Linked DNA regions of Homo sapiens: region 2 is linked to region 1. Evidence: promoter capture Hi-C in human tissues and cell types (Jung and others, 2019). All regions are on one chromosome and are shown on one strand. Each heading gives the region's core, a stretch centred on a gene start or on the middle of the fragment in contact. The rest is flanking DNA. Distances are from core to core; before and after follow the strand shown.

Region 1 (2,810 bases), core at 299-2,798:
CCAAAACACGCCCCCCAAATCGGAGCCAGAGGAGAGCCCAACCACAGAGGACTTCCACTCAATGAGGGCAACCCCTGAGTAAAGTCCATGCGGACAACCATTCATCTCCTCCGACAACCATTCATCTCCTCCGACCCCCGCCCAGCACTAGACTGCGCTCCTAGCACCGCGCCTTCTTCCGGAGCCTCCTCCCCCGGGCTGGCTAGGGGTGAGCGCAGGGGTTAGTCAGTACGCACGTGACGCGCGATGCCCACATGACACGACCGTGAGCGGGGGAGGGGGACACGGAGTGAAGAAGGGGAAAAGTTACAGAAGACCCGTCAAAGCGCCCAAAGCAATTTGTCCCTTCTTTTCTTCGCCAGCGGTGGCTCACGGATCCCTAAGGGACAGCTGGGGACCCAGGCGCCCCCAGCCCAGCCCCAGAAACGCTGGACGCAGTTCTCCGCTCACCCCACCACCTTCTCTTCCCAGACCCGCTGGTGATGCCGCTGCACCCTGAAGTTGCTCCTTCCTTCTTTCCCTCCCTTCCTCCCATTCTTTCTTTCTTTTCTTCCTTCCTCCCTTCCCCAAAAGCTCTTCATCCGCTTCGGGTGATGCCACTGACGCACATTCAATTTGCCCCAGCAGCTCTGAGGAGGTCAGACCAGGCCGAGCACCTTCCAAAGGGGAGGGTCTAACTGAGCAAACAAAGTTGCACGCCACACCACAACCTGCCCCTCCCCTCCCTTTAGCCCCCAAGTCGAATCCCCGGCGAAACTCACTTGCACTGCGGGTGCTCTCTGGCCCCCACCCCATCATCGCGCAACACACCCCCTTCAACATGCGCGGCCACCCTTTCATTGCCCTGCGCCCCGAGCGGTCCCACCGCCCGGCAAAACACTGAGCAAGCCGCTGCTCTCACCTTGCTTGACACACTTGAGCCGGAGGGGGTCCTTGCAGTGTTTGATCACGGCCAGCACGTCCCTGATGGTGAGCCCCGCCACGGGGGTCTCGTTCACCTCCAGCAGCAGCTCCTCCGACACCAATTTGCTGCCGCTCTCATAGGCCACCTTGCCGGGCTTCACCTCCCCCAGGTAGGGGAACTGTCCATTCTCGGCGCCCCCCTTCAGTTCAAAGCCCAGCTGGCCCTCCGGGTTCCTGCCAATGACACTCTCATGGACTTTGCTAGTCCAGTGGCTTTTCTTTTTCAAGCTTTTGGACATGGCAGTGGGGCGAGTCGCCTCAGTTCCTGGGCTCCTTGGGGTTAGGGGGGCTGGTGGTGAGAGAATGAGGATGGAGGAGCAAGGGGGCCCAGGGGGAAGAACAGCAGACTTTGCCTTCGCCCCCCTCTATTCGGTGCTTTCCCTCTTCTTTGGATGGAGTGTGGACGAGGAATGGGGAGGATGAGAGGGACGGCTGGGCAGAGGTAGGAGAGCTTGGATGAGGTTGTGCTGTCCCTTGAATGACACTCAAGGCTGTGGCCCCGCAGCAGAGGAAGCAGTGGTGGTGGCGTCGGCGGCGGCGGCGGCGGCAGCCGGAGCGAGCAGTAGCCGAGCTGGTGAGCGGGTGTGGTGGGGGTGGGGAAGGAGGGTAGGGATGCCGGGGGCCACTCCTGCGTGGTGCGAGTGGGAACGCGCGCGCGCGCCTGGGTGTGTGTTGTTAGCTGATATCCATGGCAGCTGCAGTGGCAGGGTGCGTGTGCGTGTGTGTGTGTGTGTGTGTGTGTACTAGTTCTACTGTACTGGCAGACGGGAGGAGGCAGGGGAGGAGGGGCGCGCGCGCCGGGTGGGGAGCCACGGAGGGCTTCGCCGCTGCCTCCCTCCCTCCCTCCGCAGCTTGACCCGGTAGTGAAGGCAGAGAGAGAGGCAGGCTGGGTCCGCCTGGCAGCCTACGGGAGGAGGCGGGAGCCGGGAAGGAGGGGAGCCTAGGCCCGGCGTGGGGAGGCCGGCAGGAAGGGCCTCGAGCCCAGTGCGGACCTTTCTTCAGCCTCTGTGCGACCGAGCCGCGCGCCAGGCTCCTGTGCGAGGAGGACGCGCTGACTCCCTCCGACCTGGGCTCCGATGGAGCAGAAATAGCGGGACCTGGACTTGTGGCGCGCCTGGTGCCACATCTCGGGCTCTGCGAGCGTCCTGGCGCGGGATCCTGCCGTGAGAAGGAGTTGGGGCGGGGGACCCGGCGGGGCATTGCGGGAGAAGGCCTGGGATCCCTGGGAGCCTTGTAGCGTGGGGGAGTTCACTGTGTAGAGAGGTTTCATGTCTTCATCTATATAGTCACTTATTTGTCTTAAAGTTCTCGAAATTCCCTCTTAGAGAAGGAGAAAGTTAGAGAACTGGAGGCTGCGTACCCTGATTACGCAGAAGGGAAGCAGCCTCGCATTCCCCGGGGCAGGCCCCCGCCCGCGCGTCCCGCCAGTAGGGGAATTTAGCGGACGGCTGCGGTTGTCTGGTGAAAGGCTATCCAAGGATAAGGGGCTTCACTTTTCCCAAGTAGGGGAAAGAGAAGGGGTCTACAGGGCTAGGGGTGGAGGGAGCGGATGCAGTGAGCAGCCTCCGCAGAGAAATTGACAATTTAACCAGGGACCTGCGGCAGAGACAAGGCGGAGACACTCCCTTGCCCAGGAAAGCCGCCAGAGTCCGGCTTGTACCTGGGGAAGAATCCTTAAGACGGTCTGGCCCAACACTCCTTTGCTCACAGAGAAAGGGGAGAAGACTCCCGAGGGTGAAAATGGTACATTCGGAGCTGGAACTCAGCTCGCTGACCCCAAGCAGTGTTCCCTTCTTTTCGCCAGGTTTGCATCCAAGAGAGGGGAGGACAGGGGCAAAAGGATGCAG
Region 2 (3,229 bases), core at 673-3,172, 1.4 Mb before region 1:
TGCAAAATTCTGACTTATGGCAAACTGTTCCCTAGGATACAATTTTTAAAACCTTTTTTTTCTACCACTGAAAATGTACAGAAATATGATTTGATCACAGAAAGGGCAATAAAAATGGCATCACACCAAGAAACTCACTAGATTTCTAAGTCATCCTGCAGGAGGCAGGGAACGCTGCTGCTAACACCGAGGATGGATGCCAAGGGTGAGCCATGGAAACATGTCATGGGTGAACGGTTCCGAATGTGTCAAAGAAACCCTTTAACCCCTGTCTAGATATGTCGAGAACAATTTATTTACAACGCTTTAGATCAATTAAAAGATATAATCTTGTCTCAGTTTCAGCTTGCTCCGTGCAGTTTGATTTTTAAGGCGATATTCCAGTTTGTGATTGCTCTTAACTTTGTCCTGTTTCTTGATATAAAGTTTGGATGACATCCAAGTCCTTCATGCAGTGGGGAGGAATATTTTTTTTTCTTAAACTAAAGCTACACTGCACTGTCTCTCTGTGATGTTCTTCACGTTATTTTGGTTCTTCCATAGCTGCCAAAGCCCCCACAAGGGAACCGGGGGCTTTAGGATCAGTTTAGGTCTGCGCGTTGATGCGATGCCGCCCAAGCACACCGGACACGTGGGACTTCACGTCGATGCTCCCAGGCCTTGGTGCCTCGTGGATCTATGCGTGTGACAGTGAAAATAAATTAAAACGCCGTGAGACGGAACCTAAGAAGAACTGCCTGCGCCGGGGCGGGCGGGTTGGCCGTGGCCGCGCGGCTCATCTGCTGGCGGCCGAGGCGCCGGGTTTGAGGACGCTGGGCAGCTTGTCAGAACCCGGCACCTTCCAGGGCCCCGGCGCGACGGCGGCCTTGCGCGCCGGGGCGCCCCCCGGGGGTCGCGGGCCCGGCCGGGGACCCGCGCGCGCACCCGCCCTGCCCTCGGCCTCCAGCGCGCCGCTGCCGCCGCCGCCCGGGCCGGCAAACGCCGGCGCAGCCCCCGGGCCTTCGCGCCGGCAGAGCTCGGAGCCCGCCGCCGCACGGGGCGCCTCCTTCCCGCCCGCCCGCGCCGCGTCCGCCGCGTCTGCCGCCGCGAGCCCGGGCGCCCTGGCCTCCGAGGCGGGCCTGCCGGCCTCGGGCCGCCCCTGGCCGCCGGGCGCCTCCTCGAGCCTCGGCCGCGCGGCCCTCTGCGGACTCGCCGAGCGCTCCCTCTGCTCCCCGAGGCGCTGCTTCTTCTGGCCGCAGGCTGAAAGCTCCTTTGGTTTCCTAACGTCGTGTTCCCGTTTGATATCCCAAGTTGGGCCTGGGCTTATCTGGTGGGAAGGGTCGGAGGGTGGGGCTGGATGTGATGGAGAGAATGGAGCGAGGCCGTCGTCCAGGGAGACGCCTACTTCCGGCAGACCTGGGGCGGCGGCAGCGGGAGAACTCCAGGGGGCGGGTTCGTCTGTGGACGGGAAGCACAGGCGTTAGCAGTGGCGCACGCAGGACGTCCCCGTGCCCTCTCTACGCCGGGGACAGGGGCAGGCAGCTGGGGCGATTGCTCTCAGGGGCCGGAGCCACCGCCGCCCCCACCCCCACCCCCACCCTCACTGCCGAGAGGGCAGCGGCCGCGCCCCCGGGGATTTGGGGGTTCCCTCCGCCCCGCTTAGCCCCCACGCCCCGAACCTCGTCCGTGGACCGGGGAGGCCAACGCGAAGCCCAGGCCTAATCCCTTCGCCTTGGCCCTGCTAACTTCCGGGGGTGTTCTCGGGCCTGATAGTCCTGTATAGACAGCTCACTTGACAGCCCTTGAATAAATGGGTCTCCAACTCGAGTAGACCTTGGAATCACCAGGGTGGTGGTGAAAAATACAGATTCCCCGGGAGGAGCAGGCCCGGAGGTTTCAGCAGCACGGGGCCCAGGAAGTCCTCTGTATTTTTATCAGGCACCCATTCTGAAAAAGGTGGCCTAGCAGGGGTGTCCAATCTTTTGGCTTCTTTGGGCTACATTAGAATTGTCTTGGGCTACACATAAAATACACTAACGATAGCTGATGGGCTCAAAAAAAAAAGGTCCATGCATAAATCTCATAATCTTTTAAGAAAGTTTACAAATTTGTGTTGGGTCACATTCAAAGCTGGAGGCGGGTTGGACAAGCTTGGTTTAGAGCCAAGCTTTGAGAAACACTGGTCTGGGTTCTCTGGAAGTTGGGAAGTGACGTTCTCAACCAGTAGGTGTCACTCAAAGCATATTCCTAGCTGCTGTCAGTTTCAGAATTTGGATAAATACATTTTAAAACTATCATTTTTTAAAAAAAATCGTCCTTAATTCCATTTTTTTTCTTTGCCAAGTCCGGATGGAACTTAATTCTTTTTAGTACTTCTAACATTATGGAGGGCCCCAGGACTAAGATAATTCTTTCTAGGAAGTCTAGTTCCAACATTTACTTAGGATTTAAGTTACCTACTTCCAAAAAGGATTTAAGACAATTGACAACATCAAAACACATATAAAACAATGATTAAAATGAGAGATGACTTTTTTTTTAAAGCAACAGCTGGTCAGAGGCCAAGTAGAAGGACAGATGTATTAGGAATCTGAGATGAGTTAGCTGCTACTGTGAGCAACAACAGTTCCCTGGAGCTTCTGGCCACTAAGGGGAAATGAAAGCAGGGAAATCCAATTACTGTGAATCCTTGATATTTGTAAGAAATATGTCTCATGACCTTGGAAATGCTCAAATTTTGTGATATTCTAGAGTGTAATTTTTCTTCCACAGAATTGGTATATGGTCATGAGTGGAGAACGAAGAAACCACATTGATAGATTTGAATTCTGGGTGCCAGGTGAGCCTCCCTCACTAGCTAAAAGATTCAGTCCCACACAGCAACCTCAGTGCATGTGATTCAAGCTCTTGCCTCTGTAACGTGTCAGAGGCTGTCAGTGATACTTGTGCATACTCAGTCCATTAATGTCCAGGGTCTACTTTGTTTGAAACTTGAGGGTTCTTATATAGTACCTTTGATACTGATTTATAAAGCAATAAGGAGAGGAAAAGGGCAGTGGCAATGGTTTTCCCAATAATTCTGGCCATCTTTAGAATGGCAAATCAAAAACGTTTCTCATTCTATGTGAAATTCGAATGGAACATTTTGGGCATAATGTTAACCTTCCTTCTTCCATACACTGATGTCCATTATCATTTTCACATGGTAAAATCCTAGAAGTCCTGGAATCTAATCCTGGCTCTGGCATGT

The links. Contacts are between HindIII fragments. The study calls those that stand out against the background at their distance.
Region 2: a fragment that was not itself captured here is called in contact with the fragment with the promoter of MAGI2 in region 1 in 1 of the 25 tissues and cell types used here (hippocampus).

Annotation. Positions count from the first base shown.
Region 1 is chr7:79,452,119-79,454,928 of GRCh38, forward strand. MAGI2 (membrane associated guanylate kinase, WW and PDZ domain containing 2) reads right to left here and starts at 1,549. Exons shown (of 22, transcript NM_012301.4): 1 at 902-1,549. The coding sequence starts at 1,202. It overlaps MAGI2-AS3 (MAGI2 antisense RNA 3), which reads left to right and starts at 839. Exons shown (of 4, transcript NR_038346.1): 1 at 839-1,073; 2 at 1,469-1,537. RefSeq lists an enhancer at 1-289. The HindIII fragment of the contact is 8,431 bases long and covers 1-2,810 here.
Region 2 is chr7:78,018,540-78,021,768 of GRCh38, forward strand. MAGI2 (membrane associated guanylate kinase, WW and PDZ domain containing 2) reads right to left here. Exons shown (of 22, transcript NM_012301.4): 22 at 1-1,437. The coding sequence ends at 776. Among named protein-coding and RNA genes, the nearest start is that of DDX3ILA1, 30 kb to the left of the region's middle. RefSeq lists an enhancer at 503-1,004 and a silencer at 985-1,144. The HindIII fragment of the contact is 5,187 bases long and covers 1-3,229 here.